Regions from separate parts of the Homo sapiens genome. Here regions 1, 2 and 4 are each linked to region 3. Evidence: promoter capture Hi-C in human tissues and cell types (Jung and others, 2019). All regions are on one chromosome and are shown on one strand. The core of a region is centred on a gene start or on the middle of the fragment in contact, and the rest is flanking DNA. Distances in the headings are between cores, read along the strand shown.

Region 1 (5,075 bases), core at 943-3,442, 40 kb after region 3:
GGGATCATATTACCTTGCCTCATCAACTCTGACTTCTGTCCTTAAATACAGTTCTGTATCTCTCATTGTCCACAGAACACATGTGCCATGTGTCATCACATCATGGAGTCTCTTGACTCAACATGACCCAACTAAAATATGCATAACTCCTCTTCCCAACACTGCCACCACCACCAACTTGTTCCTGGTGTCCCTGCTTCCTTCACAGCTATCTGGTCACCATGAAGTGATGAATATGAAGGAAAGGTTAAGAGCACTGCTGAGATGTGGCACCTCATGGCCATGCCCCTGAACCACAGTCAGCAACGACTTTCCTCCAGACTTCTACTGATTGGATAGAAGTAAAAAGGATAATTTGAGCCAGTGTAAGCTTGGCATTCTGTTTCTTGCACTCAAATGTATTCAAAACTGGTATCCCAATTCTGATCAACTTCAGAGGCAGTGTTCTTCCTGGTTTAGCCCACTGAGACTTATTACCAGTATTTAGAACACTTCTCAGTACATGGCCGACACTCAAATATATGTTAAATGAATAAATGAATGAATAACTAAATTCAACATCAAAGCATTAAAAAATGTTAACCATTAAAAACATCGTGAGTAGATTCTATTCACAACAGCAAAGTCATGGAACCAATCTAAATGTCCATCAGCAGTTGACTGAATAAAGAAAATGTGATATATATAAAATGAAATACCATGCAGCCATAAAAAGGAATGAAGTCATGTCCTTTCCAGCAACATGGACAGAGGTTGAGGCCATTATCCTAAGTGAAATAACTCAGAAACAGAAAATCAAATACTGCATTTTCTCACTTATAAGCAGGAGCCAAACAATGGATACACATGGATATACAGAGGGAAATGATAAAACTGGGAAAACCGGGGACTCCAAAAGTGGAGAAGGTGGGAGGAGGGTGAGGGTTGAAAAATTACCTATCGGGTACAGTGTTCACTGTTTGGGTGATGGGTACACTAGAAGCCCAAACCTCACAATTACACAATATATCCATGTAACGAACCTGCACGTCTACCTTTCAAATCTATAAAAATAAAAAATAAAAAATAGAGTAGGTTCAAAGTTTAATTTTATGTTTCCTAGAGAACACCTATGAGATTTCTAGTGTGCTAAATTTAAATGTAAATAATCATAGAGTTTTTTAAAAAAACATGTAGAAGCCCTGATGAATACATTTTGATTAGACTAATACTTTTTTAAAGGCAGCACAGTTCCAGCTACAATAGGCTAGGAATTTTCTGGTCTGTCACAGTGGATTGTTAGGATTGGGTCTAAACCACTTTTGTAAGCCCAGGGGTTACTAATCAGCACTTGTTTTCCTGGCCCTGGTTGTTAACTGCTCATTTGGCAAAACGCCACATGGTTAATCACGTCCTGGCTTCCTAAATCTCTATGTTTTTAACAAGAGCCTTCATTTCCTGGGCTAAGCTGCTCCAAAGTGTTCGATAACTGAGGCGTAAAGGCTGAGTTTTCAAAGGGATGAGATATTTCCTGAACAGGTGACCAGAAAAGTATAGCTGTCAGTTGCATCTCATGTGTTTTAGTAATCAGATTTTGATTTAAAAAAAAAAAAAAGAGGCTTTGCTGAGGAGTTGTAGATTTGAAAAGTTAAAGCTTCATGTTTTCTCAGTCACTTGTATCAGTGATTGTCAAAGTCTGTTTCAGGGAGACTGTCAATGTTTGTGGTTGCTGATGCCAACCTAGGGCAGTAAAATAGATTTCAAACTTGTGTTTATCAAAAATATTCTTACTATTCTCCTTGGTAAACCTAATAATAAGGAAATGTAAATTTATGTTTTAAAATTTCTGCTAAGGAATATTGGTTTATCGGTTGCATACTTTAGGTTTCCAGTGAGGTTTTATTTTTTTAAGAGCTCTTATATTAAAACAGTTGAAAAACACTGAGAGATCAACACAATAGAGGATGCTTGTTTAGGGAAAAATAACATCCCCTGCCTTTGAAGGAGGTTTTAAGAGTTAAATAAATAATTTATGTGAGAGCATCTAGCACAGTGCTTGGCACAAAAGTTAATAAAGTTTGTTGGAAGAAAGGAAAGAAAGGGTGGGAAGAAGGGACAAGTTAGTGACTTAGTTGTAAGCTGGCATGCCAGATGTCTCTGGTTCCTCCAGATTCACTTGTCACTCTTCTCCACTTTGTTCTTCACTGGGGCAGGGGAGGAGGGTGCTGACTTATATGGACAGGCCACAAGGACCCCCTTGCCTTCTGGCCTCCAGTTTGCTTTGAACAATAGGAATCCCTTGTGGGAGCCTAGAAGGCATGAGGAGGAGGTGAGGGTGTCCACGCACCTGGCCCCTCCCTTAGGCTGGTGACAAAGCTTGGTGTTTCTCTCAAGGCAGCTTCCCCTACATACTCTCTTTCCAAGTTCTGGTAACAGCATTCTCCCCTTGTCTCTTTGGGGCTGGAGTGGTAACAGCCTCACTTCTACTAACTCCAGTTTACTGCCCTATCCCTTGTGTTTCCTTATATAATGCACAGTATTGTAAATAGATGCTTTGCAGTTGACCTCTTGAATTATTCTAAGTAGGGGTTTGCCATGTAGGGGTTGTCACTGTACCATGACGGATACAGTGATTGGCTGTGTATTTTTGGACCCTCTAGAAATAGTCTTTACCCTTTCCCCCTGTTTCCTATATCCTAGGAGGCAGGTATCTGCAGACCTCCTACTGGGTTTGGCCAATGGGTGCCACCGTCAGAAGATTAGAGGATGCGAGGAGAGAGGAATGGGTTATTTACCTCCTGCCAGGCTTGGCCATTGTGTTCCTCTACTTAAGACCACAGCTCCTGCCAGGAAGCCCCTCTCTCAGAGCTTAGCTTCCATCAGGTCCTTCATTTTGCCCTTCCAATTCTATGGATGGTACAGCTCCCCAGTGGGGCTCATTCCTGAGTGCTTCACTGTCGCTTGTTGGCTCCCGTGACTCTGCCCCATTTTTGTGAAACTACCCCCTCATTAAACTCTCCTCAGTTATTCCTGGAGTGTGTCATCTGCTCCCTGCCAGGACCCTGACTGATATAGCGGGTTTTAAGACCCTGACTGATATAGCGGGTTTTAAGACTTGTGGCATTATAATACAGATTACAGTTTTATTGATCACCAATGATTTGGTTTTTTTTTTAAGTTCTAGTAAAGTTATAAGATTGTTTAAATTCAGACAAGTAGCAAAGACAATGTTTTCCCATTTTTCCTTTTCCTATTTCAAAATAAGGAAAGTACATATAACAGATAAAACAACACATTAATTGGTCCCTTGTCCAACTCAGGTAGAGTGTGTAGTCAGGAAGGGGGCAAGATCGCAGCACAAGAATGTGAAAAACTTGCAACTGAATCATCAGGAACAGCATAATGTACTCAAAACATGTAGCAAACAGAATGGGAAATCTTCACCTATAGAATGTATCTATACTAAAGGACATCTCATAGATTTAAGCTCAAAGGAACATAATAGATACCATTTTGCTCTTGAAAATTCAGCAAGTCAACCATCTCCATGGAAGGAAATACAAATTTCTTAGTTTAGAACTTGGGAGACAGAGATGTGAGAAATAAAAATGAGTAAGAGAATACATCATGGTTCTGTGGTCCATGATTCCTAAGACACTTCAAGTGAGAAAACCTGTTCTGTATTTACTGACTTTCAGAGAACACCAGCCTGTCTTTCCTGATCACCATCACTTAACAAGTTAATGCAATGCAACAAATATTTATTGAGAGCCTACTCCGTGTGAGGCACTGAGTTAGGCACTGTGGCTACAAGCATGAATAAGCATGGCGAATGAATACACAATGAATTCAAATCAAAGCAGACTATGATAGGTACAGAAGTAGGCCTCACATACTATAAACACATGTGTCTTGGGAGCATGGAATTGGTTCTGTTGCATCTTTGTATCTAACATTAATTCCTTAGGCTGCAGTTTAAACACAGTTCCATTTCATTTCTGAGAAGAGATGGATAGCAGCTATTCAGTATCTTTCATGTAATTGCATCTCAAAGGGTAATTTAATGATGACTTCACCTCTCTGCTCTCAATCCTCCTGATAATCTGCCTTCATTATCCCAGTGTGGAGGTCCCAGGTCTTCTCTTCTACATGCATATTTCCCTGATCCAAAGGGACATCCAAAACTTTAAATTTGGGGGTACCTATGTTTCAGGGTGATAGAGGGAATTGTCAGAGTTCATGACAGCTCCCCATTGCAGGAGTGCTTCCTGGTCTTTTCACCTGTCAACACACAGGAAACAGTAATATTTTTAGGCACATACTGAGCTAAATGAAAGAGATTATTTGTGACTGAAAAATAACACTCCGGGGCTATGACGGTCCCAAGTTCTACCTGGTTATCCCAAGGTCTGAGAGGTCAGTATCTGTGTAGAGCATTTACTGCAGAGATAAGGAATTTCTGGCCTACAGGATAAAGTCCAAGCACCTCAAACTGGTATGGCAGGCAACACATCCAGACAGCAGTCTGGACGGGGGCCTTGTTACCTGGGTTTCTTCACTCTGAACACTAGACTCTTGGCTGTCTGCTCAGAATAGACATCTACATACAAAACAATATCCAGAGGAGTTGTCTAGCTAGGGAATTTATGAAGATGGCAAAGATGATGACTAAAGCCACACTTTGAACTGAGAACTCTACAAAGTTTATTATATATATGGTTACATCCAGCTACCCATCAAGGGGATATATAATAGCGTGCTATATTTGTCTCTAGTTGAGCCTTGCTAAGAAACTGGTAGTAAAATTTACCAGCCTTCTTCTGCGTATTTCTCACTATTTGATTCTTAGGTTCCTGTGCAGCAATGCTCACTTTTACCTCTGAGTTTTATGACTTTTGCAAATAATCCTTAGCTTCTGAAATTTAGCCTCAGGAATGATTGGTCTTGGGCAAATCTAAGGAACTTCTGGGGTATGCAGTACCCCTCTTGGATCTGCATTATTTGGAGCTACAATTGAAGAGCGGGGAGGGAAGAGTGGATTAAACATCTTTTGGCTTGAATTATTACTTTTTCTTTGGAGTGGGCTCTGAAAATAA
Region 2 (5,770 bases), core at 1,094-3,593, 40 kb before region 3:
TTGTTAAGGAGACAGCATTACAGCAAGGCTGTATTTCAAATTCCTAAAGTAAAAGTTACTTGGGGTGTCATAAGACTCAAAGCCTTTTGCCATAGCTAATATTTCAAGCACACAGCCCCCAAAACAAAGTGTGCTGTCTGGTAGTAGAGAGGACAGTCTGAGATCTTGCTCTGGATTCTAGGGTTGATCACGAGGTCAACGTTGTCGTTTCAGGGACAGAGGATAGAAACCCAGCCTGAGTCTCATAACCTTTCAGTGACTGCTAAGAGATATGAAGGGAGACAACTCAGTGTGAACTTGGTATATTTTTGCTTCTCTCTGTCCATGGCTCTAAAAAAGACATGGGATCAAGGATAACTATTTATGACTTATGGACCAAAAGATATGCATGAAGAGTTTCTCTTTGTGGCATGGCTGCTAAGGCTATAAAAGAAGTGTGTAAGTGATATGAGTGATGTGAGAATAAGACTCAACCTACACTCTTCCAGTATGACCCTTTGAATCCAGCAAGAGGGGCTCCTGCTTTGTGCCCCACATTTAGAGGGTTCTGCTCTGTCTCTCTTCTGGAGAGGTTCCTTCCCACAGCATGAGGAATCCTTGAAGTCAATAGAACATACCCATCTGGCATGCCTGACTCACATTTTAGTCCATACTCCTGGGACCCCGGAATTGACTTCGTAAATAGCCCTGAGCCCATTTTCAAGACCTATGTGGTCATTTCTCCTGGGTCATTCCTCCCATGGTCAGAGGGTGGCTGAGGAATAGCTGTTTCAAGAGGCATGGTCAGAGCTTGGATACATGGTGCAATGTCCACACACCTATGCTTGAGGCTCTTTACTGTGTGCAGTGGAGCCAGGCAGGGGAAGAGAAGTGGGTTTTCATTCATACTCTTGCCCAAGACTTCACAAACGGTAGGATCAGTCCTACATGTCTCTCTCCTCTTTTTCCCAGTTATCCATGTACACCAAGAGCCCAAATTCACACGGTGCCAGTTGGACAGATTCCTTATGTGTCTGTCTATCTGACCAACACTGCTCCTGCTCCCAAGAAAGGTTAGAATAAGCCAGGACTGTGGAAATCCTGCCAAACCTTGCTGGAGCTATAATGTGGAGTATAACCAGGCACAAGGCCCAGGTTTTGCTGCCCAGTGTCTTACTCAATGACCTACAGCCATTTTTCCTTTCATCTGTCTGATTTCCCCACCATCTGTCTGGTACTGTAGGTTTTTTTTTTCTTCCTTTTAATGACTTTGATTACTGAGTTAATTTCTGACTGAATAGGATAGCTGAGTTATAGGGCTGTCACACCATGAATGATCAGTCAATTAACAAACGTTTGTAATGTGCTAGACACTGCACATTCATGACTCTCCTCTGACAGCTGTCTGAGACTGCAGAATTGAGCACTGGTCTCCTCCAGTCCTTACTATATGGGGAACGTAGGACATGGCCAATGAGGGTTGCTTCTTCATCCCTGAATGACTCTGAGGGCACCTGTGCTTTTATGAGTGGGAACTCCCTGCCAGGATCTGTGGGAGTCCAGAGGTCCTATGGGTTTGGCTCCTCGAAGGGGAAGAAATCTCTGAAATGTTATGAAATGTTATCCTATGATCAGTAAGATCATATTTTTGGAAATAATAAACTGGAATTTCAATTCCATTTAAAGTAATGATCAGCATTTTCAGAAAGCTTTCAACACATCATCTTCAATTGTCTTATAGGTGACAGATATTAGGGGCATTTCATTGCCAATATAGAATGATAAATTGATAATTTCCTTTTCAAGGAATATTGAGAGATGATAAATAGGTGTGGGAAAGCCACAACTTTACAAGTGTAGGTGTTAATTTTCTCTAAAATTATGTAAATGTCACTAGAAAGTTAGTAATTGAAAGTAAGGTCACCAGCAATGATTTCTTCCCCAAATAGAAGTTGTTCTGACTCTACACTGCTCCAGAGACCGATGGCTACCATCTAAAAAGGGACAGAGGGACAAGTGAAGTGAGTTAATACCAAAGGGTAGATTTTGAGATTGTGATGGCAAGCAATTTGGTCATGTGTTTCCAAAGGATAGATGTAGATGAAGGAATAACACCATTGGGTCTAGCCTTTTCACTTTATCTTCTGTAATGGAAAGTTGAAGAGCCCATATCTAACCTAAGTTTTACAAATGTTATATTATTGAGAAGGATGATTAATGCAAAGAAGAAATGGTCTAAAAATACAATGTTTATCTAATTTGAATTTATTTTCGGAAATATGTCTGAAAATATGACATTTTCAGAAGAATATCATTTGTTACCAGAAAATATGCAGCTACTTCTGTTTTATTCACTTATTCAACAACTATTTATTGAGTGCCTGTTGCGCTGTTGTGGGAACTGGGGGTACAGCACTAAATGAAACAGGTACAAATCCTTTTCTTCACAGAGCTCTCAGTGATGGAGACAATGGAAAGGGAGAGAGAGGCAATAACTTGATAAGTACATTCAATGGTTTATCAGAGTGTGATATATATTAAGGAGAATAAAATAAAGCAGAGAGGGGGGATAGGAAGGCTGGGGAGGGATGGCCAGGGGAGGCCTCATAGGGAATATAACATTTAAGTGTATCTTGAGAGAAGTGAGGGAGTGAGAAGGTAGATATTTGGAGGAAGATTATTTCAGGCTGAAGGAAGAGTGAATGCAAAGGAAGTAGGTGGTTTGAGTGAAGAGGGGAGGAAGGTAAGGGATAGAAAGAGGTGAGCTGTCTGTGTGTGTTTCTGAAGTGGATACATCAAGTGGTGCTTTGGAGGTCAAAGCAAGGACTTGGGTTGTGACTGTAAATGAAACAGAAGAGAAGACGTACATTCTGAGTAGGATAAGAATCTCTTTGCAACTGTGATAGAAAATGATTAAGCATTTCCTTGCACAAGGTCATAGCTGGGCCATGTACAAAATAAATGAAACACAGTCCTCCTACCACACCCTGGACATGAATGACCTGGAATGTGATTCCTCACAACACTGCCCCTTTAGCCACTGCCCTGCATATGAGAATGAAATTCTTTGCCCATTGCCAACATCAGCTGTCTAACATTACTTCTCTTTTCCTTCTGTGGCCTCTTTTCTAAGTTCTATGCTGAGAAACTAGCAGAATACATTCATTACTGGGTTTTCCTGCCACAAATCCTTTATTCTTCCTCAGGCTCTGCGGCTTTGATGACTGGACATCCCTGTGTCTCTTTCTCGAACTCCTGAAAAACAGCTCCTTCATAAGGATTGGCGTAGAGATAAGATGCAGATTTTTTTTCACCACCAATTACAGAATAATGTGCCCCAGACATATTTCAGAGTCCAGGGTATTATTCATACTGAAACTGATATATAATGTAACTGTTCTGTTTTTGAACTGTTCTTTATTTTATTGTCTTTGTGTATATGAATGTGCTTATGTTCCATGCCATAGCTGTAATTATCATAATTAATTAGGCCCATACTAGGAGCGTCCTCTTTTTAAAGAAAGGCAGCAATTTTGTTTGCCCTGCTTGGCATAACTCATAGCAGACACTATATGTAAGAGAAGGCATAACTCATGACGCTATGTGTAAGAGAAGCTATATGTAAGAAAGCCTATATATAAGAGAATAATTATAATCATTGCAAATGGTAACAAATACAATTTGCAATAAGTCCACATTTTGGTGGTTTTTATCACCTCCAAAAGGCCTGAACCAATACCTTTCATGTCATTCTCAGAGAGTATTCACAGAACTGCTAGGATGTTCTACCACTGATCCATGTCAAGTCTGCCAGCTGGCCTACTCCCTTTTACATGCAGATCTAGGTAAGACCCTCTCCCATCAACTGGGAAACACCTAGAATGGAATATATAAAAGGCCCCCACTCAAATATCACTGCCGCAACTAAAAACTATGAATCTAATTGCTTCTATACTCAGCTCCCTCTTTTTTGGTTCTCTCTCTTCCTCTACCTCCTTAAGTTCTCTCTCTCTCTTTCTCTTTCTCTCTCTCTGTCTCTCTCTTCCACTGTATTATAAATCTTGAGGGAAGCTTTTTCACCCCCTTTTCCCTATTCTGCCTTCTCCTGCCCGCACCTCTATTACAGGAGGCCACCTTTACACAAAGCTCACTGCTGATGGTAATCTTGAAACATTCCCTCTGGGACACTCATAATCTCCCAGTTTTCCTTTTTCCTCTTTTTCTTTGGATATTGCTACTCAGTGTCGTTTGCTGGCTTCTCCTCCTCCTAAACCAAAAAATTAACTGTCAGTGTTCTTCAGGAATTGGTCCTACATCAATTTTTGTTTTTTTATTTTATTTTATTTTATTATTATTATACTTTAAGTTTTAGGGTACGTGTGCTCAATGTGCAGGTTAGGTACATATGTATACATGTGCCATGCTGGTGTGCTGCACCCAATAACTCGTCATTTAGCATTAGGTATATCTCCTAATGCTATCCCTCCCCCCTCTTCCCACCCCACAACAGTCCCCAGTGTGTGATGTTCCCCTTCCCGTGTCCATGTGTTCTCATCGTTCAATTCCCACCTATGGGTGAGAACATGCGGTGTTTGGTTTTTTGTCCTTGCGATAGTTTGCTGAGGATGATGGTTTCCAGCTTCATCCATGTCCCTACAAAGGACATGAACTCATCATTTTTTATGGCTGCATAGTATTCCATGGTGTATATGTGCCACATTTTCTTAATCCAGTCTATCATTGTTGGACATTTAGGTTGGTTCCAAGTCTTTGCTATTGTGAATAGTGCCGCAATAAACATACATGTGCATGTGTCTTTATAGCAGCATGATTTATAGTCCTTTGGGTATATACCCAGTAATGGGATGGCTGGGTCAAATGGTATTTCTAGTTCTAGATCCCTGAGGAATCGCCACAATGACTTCCCCAATGGTTGAACTAGTTTATAGTCCCACCAACAGTGTAAAAGTGTTCCTATTTCTCCAGATCCTCTCCAGCACCTGTTGTTTCCTGACTTTTTAATGATTGCCATTTGAACTGGTGTGAGATGGTATCTCATTGTGGTTTTGATTTGCATTTCTCTGATGGCCAGTGATGGTGAGCATTTTTTCATGTGTTTTTTGGCTGCATAAATGTCTTCTTTTGAGAAGTGTCTGTTCATGTCCTTCACCCACTTTTTGATGGGGTTGTTTGTTTTTTTCTTGTAAATTTGTTTGAGTTCACTGTAGATTCTGGATATTAGCCCTTTGTCAGATGAGTAGGTTGTGAAAATTTTCTTCCATTTTGTGGGTTGCCTGTTCACTCTGATTCTTTTGCTGTGCAGAAGCTCTTTAGTTTAATTAGATCCCATTTGTCAATTTTGGCTTTTGTTGACATTGCTTTTGGTGTTTTAGACATGAAGTGGTCCTAGGTCAGTTTTTATCTATGTGCATTCTCTCCCTAGGTGATCTCATCCAATTTTATTGCTTTACATAATATCTATATCCGAATAATGCCCAAATATACATCTTTCTTCTAGACCTCTTCACTGAACTCCAGATTCATGTAACTGACTATTTACTTGGCATCTCCACTTGGTGGTCTCATAGCAACTCAGACTCGATGTGCCCCAAATGGAACACATGATTTTAGTGCTGAGCTCTTCTCCCCACCCCTTTCTTGCCCTAAACTGCAAGCCTGCTCCTCCCTTGTCTTACCCAGAATGCCACCACTATTTATTAGTTGCATAAGCTACCTGAAAAACATTTTGAATGTACTTTCAGAATGTTTTTAGAATCCATTCATCTTTTTC
Region 3 (5,781 bases), core at 1,815-4,314:
AATGAAACATTTAGGTATGCAAAATAGTGTTTATCCACCTAACAGAACTGAAATATAAATTCCTATTAATTGATAATAACATGACAACACAAAGAAAACTTGCCATGAGACCAGCCTGGCCCACATGGTGAAACCCTGTCTTTACTAAAAATACAAAAAAAAAATTAGCTGGGCATGGTGGTGCACGCCTGTAGTCCCAGCTACTTGGGAGGCTGAGGCAGGAGAATCGCTTGAACCCAGGAGGGGTAGTTGCAGTGAGCCGAAAAAACTGGCCACGAAGTGATTGTTACCTTGATAAGTTACCTTTTCCATTCCTCTTACACTGGTAAGATTCTGTGAATTCAAATGTTTGCTTAATAACTTTCTAAAGGCACAATAAGAAAGAAGACATTCTGGGAAATGAATTGTGCACTAATTGTAAGTTGAGCTCTGGAAGAAACAGAAAAGAGTCATCCACCTGAGCTCTCTGGAGGTCCCTGCTTTTTGCTCCAAGGAAGCCACTACTGAGAAAGTAAGGTTAGATCTTTTATTCATTTATATGAACAGGGCTTATACATTTCTATCAGGAAGAATATCAGAGGATTCTCATCCAAGCAAACGTTGATGAAACATCATTGACAGGGTAATGACATTCTGAATGGAAAAAACGTGAACCACAAAGCTGCGTTGCAATGGGAGTGTAAACTTTGAGGGTGCAATGTGTCCCAAAGGCATGTTGATTAGAAAGTTTTAACACTGAGAGGGGTGTTTATTTAAATGAATATTATCCTCTTTGGGGAGTCCATTGGATCTATTTATTTTGGTTTTCCCAACTCTGTCTCATGCTGCATTGAAAAAGATACTTTTATGCTTAGGAAAAAAAAAAAAGCTCTACTGTAAGTATTCTTAGCTGGGCCTCACCAAAATGAATGAGATTTTTAACATGTATAGTATATACAGTACACTTAATATGTATAGTCTATTGTATATTGATGGAGCTGTCACTGCAGAATGAACAAGTAAATGGAAGATTTTCTTCACTAGGCTAGGGGGAGAATGTCAGGGGTATCTGGGAGCTAATGAAATTCTGTGAGATAAGTGAGGGTACTGTTTAAACCCCACCAGTTCTGCAAGTCCTCACAGAAAGCAAAAGGAGGGGCACCCAATTAGAACAACTTCATCCTTAGACAGGACAAGCATAGGACACAACCACAAAAATCATTCGCTAAACCCCAGAAGAATGTGGCTGTGTAAGGATTAAATGAGACAAAGCATATAAAGTGCTTAGTATGTAGTAAGTGTTCAGAAAACATCTTATTATTGTTTTGAAACATGTCCTATGGCATGAGTAAAGTTTATCTCCATTTCACTGTAGAAAATGTAAAGGCTCCAGAAAATTCACCAGTACCTTCTCCGCTTTTGTCTAAATTCATCTGTGAGAAGCTTTACTCACGCTTTGGCTGCCGGTGACTCACGGTTAAATCATCTCTCTCAACTTTTTTCCTTTTCGGTTTTTTAATACAGTTGCATATCACATGACATTCTGCTTTGTTTTCTTCCTTCCCCTTCCCCAGGAAAACTAAGCAACTCTAACAGCCCCATTACCTTAATGAATAAAAGCCATTCAGTGAAAAGAACTGGTATCCACTTCATCAATTAAAAAGCTAACAACCAATTCTTGGAAATTTTCTGGAGCCCTATGAAAATTCATATCACTTAGTAACCTATGTGAGCTGAAGGTTGGTGTCCAATGACTGCTAAGAAGATATAAGGAATGTTGCAGAAATATAAATAGACCAGCACTGAAATTTAATTAGGCACTGCATATGTTAATAATAAATTCAATTAATTTAGCCTTCTACCTATACTAGAAAGAAAAAAAAAACCTGGGCAAAATAATAATTCATTTTAAATGCTTCAGTTGGTAACCTCCTTTCCTGAAGAGTGATTTATGCAGTAATTTACTGACTGTGTCTTCATAAGGTTGTTCCAAACCAGCCCTTCTGAAATAATAATAACTTCTGAATGTGTGTTGTAAGAGATATAACAAATGACTTCCTATTAATTTTCATTTAATGAGTTGCCTATTCACATGGTAATTTTTAAAAATTCTCTTCTTAAGATAAACAGGTTATAAATACTGTGGATTACACTTCCATTTCACAAAAATCACAACAAGAAAATCTCTCTCATATTCTCTACATGATTTGCAGGTCAATCAGTTTAAAATGTTCTATACTAAATAGGCATCCATTTCTTTCCCAGTTAGCACAGCAGATCATTTTAAATTTCTATAGCCAAATGATTCCAAATTAGTTAAAAATGAAAACTGAATATTTAGCAGCAGGAAAGGTCTTAGCAGGAATAATGGGAGGGAGTGGGGAGCAGGAAACAAAATCATGAGAAAGGTGGCAACCTGGTTAAATACGGAGCCCATGACCTTGGTTCTTTTTATAAAGAACAAAAAGCATAAAGATCATTCTTTACAGCTTTCCTATTTCCCCAAGTTTACTTTTTTAAAAAGACTCCATAATTTTTTACATAAATATTAATACTTAAGCATCTTAATTGCCAATATTTCCAAAAACCTTAATTATGTAACAATGAATTAACTCTATATTATAATAAAAAGCAAGTATAAAATAATAAAAACTAGGAAGAAGAAATTGCTCAGAGTCATAGGTTTTTCATATGGTTCACACCGATTTAAAAAGTCCTGCAGTAAACACGGCAAAATTCTCAAATATAATTCCTCGCAACACTGGGAAGAGTCTGCCTAAAGCATTAAATAACTCAAATGCAATTGCTACTTACATGAGAACCGAAAGGGCCTTGCTCCCAACCCACACTGCCTCACACCCTCTCCGTGGAAAAGCCCGTACTGCATTTCACCCATAAACTTGTCCAGCTCCTGCCCTGAGGCATTGACGAGCAGAGCTCCCGTTTTGCAGAGGACAGTGGCTTTGATCCACAACGGTGTCCCCAAGGCTGTCACAACTCCGAGGGCACATGCAAAACTGAACACTCCGGCCATGCAAAAAATGATTTTCTTCTGTTGGCTTGGCATGATGAGAAACGGCTTCTGTGAGGGCGAGGTTCAAAAACAAGACCTTTGTGAGCAATGGGAAGGGACTGCCTCTTTGACTGCATTTATTACGGAAGCTGAACGGACAGCTCCCAGCTGAAAAGGCAACTTCACCATCGACGGTTCTCGCCAGGTTAAATGTCAGTAGATGAAGGCCTCATCATCACTCATACTTGGCTTTTCTCCTTTTCTGCTGCTTCTTCTCCCTAATTGGAAATCTTTGGACTAAGAATCTGTAAAACAAGTCTTTCAAACTGCCTTCAAGTATCTCCTCTGTGTCACTTGGTAACAAAGGTCGAAGATAACAGATGGAGTCCTCAGTGTAACTTGATAAATGTTTCCCTTCCTCAGCCTTTTGTCTGATTGGGTGAGTTGAAACTTTCAGAAACAGGCTTGAATCTGATGGTACATTTTCAGCAACTTGAGAAGTTCACTTATCGATGTTTTTATTTTTGTTTTTTGTTTGTTATTGTTTTTGGTGGTGGGGGAAGGAGCTTTAGCAGAGGTAGGGAGAACATATGTACCTGTATTGATAGTTGATGTCAAAAATTTTTAATTACAGCAGGATAAAAATATTAAACAGAATTTGGTCCTACACGAATATTAAGTGCTCTGGATCAACCATGGGTCCTTGTCCTTCCAACTTAATTTCTCCCAGATCCATGGTTTATACCTAATGTATCAATAGAGAATTTGATTCAAATTTTTCTTGGCATACAGAAATATGAAAATGCAGGAGCAGATATCTAGATTTCTAAATGCTTTCCTTTAACAGGCTTAGCTGCTTTAGGATAATAGCAAGGGAATGTGTTTCTGGGTCCAAGGAATACCAGGATCTGTAAAGATAAGGGCATATTGATGGAAAGAGGGATGGTGGTCAGATAGGTGACTCTATGGATTCATCATAAAAATGCACAGGTCTCAGCAAAGGTAATCTGTTTGGGAGACTAGAGACAGTTATGAGCAAAGATTAAGCAGCAGGTAGGTCTGGTTAAACGGTCAAGACCTGGAAACTAAAGTTCAGAATTCAGTAACAGCTTTTTAACTTTGCATTTCCAATGAGATTCCTCCTTCTACAGACACAGGACTGTGTGTGTGTGTGTGTGTGTGTGTGTGTGTGTGTGTGTGTGTGTGAAGTGTCTAGTGAATGTTTATTATATGCCATGTTATTGTCCTGAGCTCTGACCTACAAAGTTAATGTTTAGTAAGAACTTATGTCTGGCAACTTGTGAAGTATTCTACCTAAATTATCATATGTAATTCTCATAATTAGCATATAAAGTAATGAAGAAGAGGAAGAAGAAGAGGAGGGAGGAGGAGAAGAAGGAGGAGGAGGAGGAGAAAGGAAGAAGGAAGAAGAATAAGAAAGAAGAAAGAAGAAGAAAAAGCAATTATTCGTATCTTATATATAAGGGAATTGAGGCTCAGAGAGTTTAAGCAACTTGCTGAAGAGAGTAGTGGAGCTGGGATTCAAATCCAGGTCTTCTACTTCTGAGGTTGATGTTCTATTCCAAGCAAAGCCCCTGACCTTGAAAAGATGGCAAACATTTCAGTTTGGGTTGGGTTCGTCTAGGAGTAACAGGGGCAGACTAGCCCATTATTAGTTACACATATTGAGTGTTTGAAGAACACAGACATCAGTAAATAGAACTTTTTCAGTTGGCCAAAAGCACATGTGTATGCTAGCTTCTATTCTTTTGATCCACCTTTAAGCATGACAGCTTAGAGGAAATTAATAAATGAAGACTTATTTCACACCATTTTCAGCATAAATGAGTCTCTACATTATGCACACTTCGAAGGGAACTTTGAGGTATAGACTCGGAGTACTGGTAAACTTCTCTCACAGCTCGCCTCTCCTAGGAGTCGCAACAGCCAGTCTCGTTAAGGACAGACAACTAAGTATAGAACTCATTCTAGAATGCCAATGTACCTTCGGGGAGAAGAGGGGCAATATAAAACATGGCCACAGAAGAACTGGGCATATAGAAGATTCCAAAGAGGCACTTAAAATAAAGTTTACAATATTAGTAAGTCTTTTTTATTTTGTATAACTTAACACAGAATAAGCAACTCATCCCAGTTTATTTGGCCTTCCAATGAATTCACCACTGGATTTAGAATAATTGCTAGAACACAGAATAAGCAACTCATCTCAGTTTATTTGGCCCTCCAATGAATTCACCACTGGATTTAGAATAATCGCTATCATGGTCCACTAGCAAAACAAGGGGGTGCCAGTGCCCCTGATAAGTGGTTATTTGGGCATATATGTGCCACAGTCACCCTAGAAAACTTAGTTTAAGATGTCTAAGCAGAGCTGAGCTTACTAAATCAACATATTCTGTAATTGGAAGAGACAGAACATTTCCAAAGCCTGGGAGAAGAAATCACCTACAACTTAATCAATACTATTAATAACCTCTACTAAAGGATATGGCAAGAGAAGGATAGTTAGCATAGGACAGCGGTTTAATTAACCCAAACTCAGCCAAGTATATCTAAAGCTGTCCAAGGAGGAAAGCCTTGATTATGGGTGTAGAGAGCAATTAGATCACATCAGTTGCATCAGTTTGCATCAGTCTGTAGCGACATGTTCACTCGTCTGTAGAGACATGGGAAAAATAAATACAACATACTGAGTTACTCTTATATCCTGAAGTTAGGCCCTTCCTAATTTTTATTGTTGAAATTTTCTTTCTTTAATGAGATAATGG
Region 4 (5,016 bases), core at 904-3,403, 57 kb after region 3:
CAACTTTCTTCACATTTCCTATAGAGATACAAATACATCCCACATTTTGCCTATGATTGTGTGAGAGCAGTTTGATCTCACTAACAAATACATCTCTGGCATTGGTAATTCTACAACAGGTAAAAATGTTGTGTTGAAAGTAAACCCACTAAAGCAAAATCAAGCAGTGAAAAGTTTAAAGAATAGTCCTTAAAACTTTGAGAGGCCAGGCATGGTGGCTCATGCCTGTAATCCCAGTGCCTTTGGAAGATGTGGTGAGAGGATTGCTTGAGGCCAAAAGTTTGAGATCAGCCTGGGCAATGTAGCAGGACCTTGTCTCTACGAAAAAAATAATTTTTTAGAAAATTAGCCAGGTGTGGTGCACACCTGTAGTCCTAGTTACTTGAGAGGCTAAGGCAGGAGGATTGCTGGAGCCCAGGAGTTCGAGGCTACAGTGAGCTATGATCATGCCACTGCACTCCAGCCTGGGTAACAGAGTGAGATCCTATCACTAAAAACAAACAAACAAACTGTGGTATCAGATCAGAGATATAAATTCTATTGCAGTGGCCTGAGCCCATCATGGTATATGCTGTGACATCTAGCCATCTAACACGGGATACAGAGATCCTTATGGAACTTTTCCTATAAAACCACACAAACTTGTTACTTCCTATATCAATCCTGAATATGTTTATTTTCACATAACCTGTTCCTTTAGCTCTTATCAGGCAAATGTCCTTTGTCCTCCCTCCGCCCCCACCAGGCCTTTCCTGTCACTTTCTCGTCTTGCCTCCAGTCCTTCTCATGTTACTGTCCCCTTGATGGAGCCATCTTGCTTCTGATTTGCCCCACAGCCTCTTTCCCTTATTTTGATATGCCCTCAGTTTCTACTTCTTTCATAGAACTTAAGCAGATGAAATAAAATTGGGAAATACAATTTCAGCAAGAATCACTCATATTTTTGCTTGACTCAAATTGTAAAAGGAAGAAACACAAGATGAAAAGATCTATCCCACCTTCAGTGCAAACTGGTTCCCTTTTTTTTTTTTTTTTTTTTTTTGAGATGGCATCTCACACTGTTGCACTGTTGTCCAGACTGGAATGCAGTAGTGCAATCCAGCCTTACTGCAGCCTCTGCCTCCCAGGTTCCAGCAATTCTCCTGCCTTAGCCTCCTAAGTATCTGGGATTACAGGCGCCCATCACCACATTTGGCTAACTTTTTGTATTTTTAGTAGAGATGGGGTTTCACCATGTTGGCCAGGCCGGTCTTGAGCTCCTAACCTCAAGTGATCTGCTTGTTTCAGCCCCCCAGAGTGCTGGGATTATAGACTTGAGCCACCACACCTGGCCTGGTTCCCTTTTTTTATTTTTTAAAATCAAAATTTAAGCAGGTAGAACATATATGCATAAAGGAAAATATATTGGCTTTGAAGTCAGCAGAACTGGATTTGAATCCTGGCCCAACCATTCACTAACTATGTGATCTTAGGCAAGTTGTATACCTCTCTGAAGCCAATTTTTCATATCTATAAAATAATACATAATATATTTCACCTATAAAATAATGTTATTACAATGGAAATATAACATTCTATCTCAAAAAGTGACTGCACAGTTGATCACTTAAGTCATATAATAAATGCTAGTTCCTTTCCCCTTCCTCTTCCTAATAAAGTTTGCACAGGAGAAAATTTCCCATAAGTTACCCAGTTTTTACTACTGTGCAGCCAAGTATTACTTTCTAGTCTGTTAAGCAGGAGTCACAGAATGCTAAAAGTGTTCACTTTATGGATGAGGAAACTGTGACCCGTAGGGGTGCAGTGATTTGCCCAAGGTCAAGCTACAGAAGACTAGGATGCAATCCCACAAGGCTTCCAGTTAATTCATGGAATATTTGTTGAAGATCTACCATACGTCACATGCCATGTTAGCCACCAGGAATGTAAAACTGGAAAAGGTATGGAGTTCAGAATCTTCTAGGAGAGATAAATACACCCAACAAACCATAATATGATGTGATGTGTGCTAATATCCCTCCCATTGAAGAAATTTAAAAGCCCAGGGCTGCATCCACACCAGAATATAAATGTGAAAATCAATTGCATCTGACCAAAGAGGCTGCAGAATGCTTCAGATTGAATCATAATGGAAGGAAAATGACACCGTACAAACTTTCTCCTAACCCTAAAGACTCATTCAGCTATTCACTTACTCCATCTCCAACAAACCTTTATAGAATACCTACTGTGTAGATCTCCTAACCCTAAAGCCTCATTCAGCTATTCACTTACTCTATCTCCAACAAATATTTATAGAAGACCTGCTATGTGCACAACACTATGCATGGAACCAGGGATATAAAGATAAACATAGTAAGATTGCTGCCTCAAAACTCAGTAGTTGAAGAAATGTAAGTTGACAGCTTTCTGGGCCATTAATGTATATACATTTTAAATAAATTTCAGGAATAATCTGAATTTAAATTCGATGCCTTAAAGCAGGTACTTAAAAAAAGTACTACAACTTGAACCTTATTACTTCAAATATCTATCTTCAATAGAGAGAAATGCTGTCCTTTGAAAGGCAGGAGGATTTAAAAGGTGATTCTTATAACTTGATCAGGATTTATATTTATTCTTTGGCTATCATGAATAAGTAGTTTGGATTGCCATGGTTGAGAATTGATTTCTAATGCATGTCAACATCATTGCAGTTGATTTTCAAATCCCAGATCCTTCTCTGACTCTGAAATAGAAATTGATAAACTTTATTTATATGTGTATAATGTTTTCACCAAGTCACACTAACGCAATTATTTCACCACTGTCGAAATGCAATAGCAAAGTTATCAAATTAATGTTACAACAAAATCAATACATATTAATGGGGTTTTCTTTGTTTTTCCTTGCATCTTCTAAACCATTTTTTCTTAAAATAAGTCAACCTCAAAAATGTGAGGGTGTTAGTGTCAGTACATAACAGAATTGATGGACTAATCAATTTTTTCTTTTTAGCATTATCTGTAGGACCTAGATAAACATCATTTATTCATTTTTATTTGGAACCAGCTTCATGGAACTTCTCTGAAGAGATGTGAGAGGCTGTTTTATTTGTAATAATGTCTTCTGGTAGTGGGTTGTGATGGTTAGTACTGAGTGTCAACTTGACTGGATTGAGGGATACAAAGTATTGATCCTAGGTATGTCTGTGAGGGTGTTGCCAAAAGAGATTAACATTTGAGTCAATGGGCTGGGGAAGGTAGATCCACCCTTAATCTGATGCGCACAATCTAATCAGCTTCCAGCAAATATAAAGCAGGCAGAAAAACGTGAAGAGGAGAGACAGGCCTAGCTTCCCAGCCTACATCTTTCTCCCATGCTGGATGCTTCCTGCCCTCAAACATCAGACTCCAATTCTTCAGTTGTGGGACTCAGACTGGCTGTCCTTGCTCCTCAGCTTGCAGACAGTCTATTGTGGAACCCTGTGATTGTGTAAGTTAATACTTAATAAACGCCCCTTTATATGTATTATATATCCTATATTATATAGGATATATATATAGGATATATATAGGATATATATAGGATATATATATAGGATATATATATAGGATATATATAGGATATATATATAGGATATATATATATTATATAGGATATATATAGGATATATAGGATATATATAGGATATATATTATATATAATATATATTATATATTATATATATAATATATATAGGATATATATATTATATATTATATATATAATATATATAGGATATATATATTATATATTATATAGGATATATAGATATATATCTATATATCTATACATATATACACACATATATTCATATTATATATCCTATATATCCATATATATGGGTATATATCATATATCATATATATCATATATATGGATGTATAGGATATATAGTATATATAAAGGGGAGTTTATTATATATATGATATGGATATATATGATATATATGGATATATATTTTATATGGATATATATCACATATATCATATATATGATATATATATGGATATATATCACATATATCATATATATGATATATATGGATATATATCACATATATCATATATATGATATATATATGGATATATGTCCTATTAGTTCTGTCCCTCTAAGAGAACCCTGACTAATACACAGGTATAGCATACAGGGAAAAGTGTTGCTTGCAAAGATTTATAATGACCTCAATTATAATACTTTGAAGAAAGGAAGTTGAGAGAATAATAAATATTTTGTTGATGCCTTTCCTCCAAGCCTTGTTAAGGTCTCTCTTCCCCAGAACATCTCTAGTCATGTGGTAAGTCAGAAAGAAGAAGGGCCTACGTTCTTTTATAAATTTCATTTTGCAACATCGAGAGATATACACTGGATGATAGAACTGTCAAAACAATTTATGACAGGAAAAACTCCTTTTAGATCACAATGTCTCCATACAATTTTTGTGCAGCCTAATCTGAAATTATCCATTCAAGTCATGATGCCTCTCTACCATAAAAAAGGATCACAGCACATCCTACACATGGATTTTAGACCATACAATGTTGATAGAAGAACTGGCATTTGTTAGAAATAATGTCTTTGTCTTTCCCAGGGAGGCTTGATTACAGGAAAACCTTTCTTAAATAAATCCTCCAGGGAATGGCAAAAATCATTTGCCCTACAGAAAAGATCTTTCCCTAAAGGTCGAATCCACCCTCACTATAAAGTGTAGGCAGTTATTTATATAAATTAGTTCAAAAGTAGTGAGGTACTCTGAAGTTCCTTTTATTCCTTTAATTAGTAAAGACAAAGTCACATATAAAATCCACACCTCTTTCTGATGTTTGTGTGTAAATGGTAAATAATAAAACTACTTCCAGATCAAACTCTATCAATGATACCAGCATTATGAAAATGGAGCCATAAGTTACTGGTATCTCTTAACATACTCTGCTCATCTCAATGCAATAAGCACTACTATTTAAAAAATGAGGGAAAACAAAGGAATATAATTCA

The links. Contacts are between HindIII fragments. The study calls those that stand out against the background at their distance.
Region 1: a contact is called between a fragment that was not itself captured here and the fragment with the promoter of CLRN1 in region 3, in 2 of the 25 tissues and cell types used here (small bowel and stomach).
Region 2: a fragment that was not itself captured here is called in contact with the fragment with the promoter of CLRN1 in region 3 in 3 of the 25 tissues and cell types used here (IMR-90 fibroblasts, neural progenitor cells and small bowel).
Region 4: a contact is called between a fragment that was not itself captured here and the fragment with the promoter of CLRN1 in region 3, in 2 of the 25 tissues and cell types used here (aorta and psoas muscle).

What each region holds. Positions count from the first base shown.
Region 1 is chr3:151,010,232-151,015,306 of GRCh38, forward strand. The region is part of intron 1 of CLRN1-AS1 (CLRN1 antisense RNA 1); the gene reads left to right. Among named protein-coding and RNA genes, the nearest start is that of CLRN1, 40 kb to the left of the region's middle. The HindIII fragment of the contact is 4,220 bases long and covers 83-4,302 here.
Region 2 is chr3:150,930,825-150,936,594 of GRCh38, forward strand. All of the region lies in intron 2 of CLRN1 (clarin 1), which reads right to left. Among named protein-coding and RNA genes, the nearest start is that of MINDY4B, 28 kb to the left of the region's middle. The HindIII fragment of the contact is 6,636 bases long and covers 1-5,661 here.
Region 3 is chr3:150,969,663-150,975,443 of GRCh38, forward strand. It overlaps CLRN1 (clarin 1), which reads right to left and starts at 3,065. Exons shown (of 3, transcript NM_174878.3): 1 at 2,794-3,065. The coding sequence starts at 3,046. It overlaps CLRN1-AS1 (CLRN1 antisense RNA 1), which reads left to right and starts at 3,016. Exons shown (of 6, transcript NR_024066.2): 1 at 3,016-3,431. The HindIII fragment of the contact is 11,205 bases long and covers 1-5,781 here.
Region 4 is chr3:151,027,242-151,032,257 of GRCh38, forward strand. The region is part of intron 1 of CLRN1-AS1 (CLRN1 antisense RNA 1); the gene reads left to right. Among named protein-coding and RNA genes, the nearest start is that of MED12L, 56 kb to the right of the region's middle. The HindIII fragment of the contact is 8,714 bases long and covers 1-5,016 here.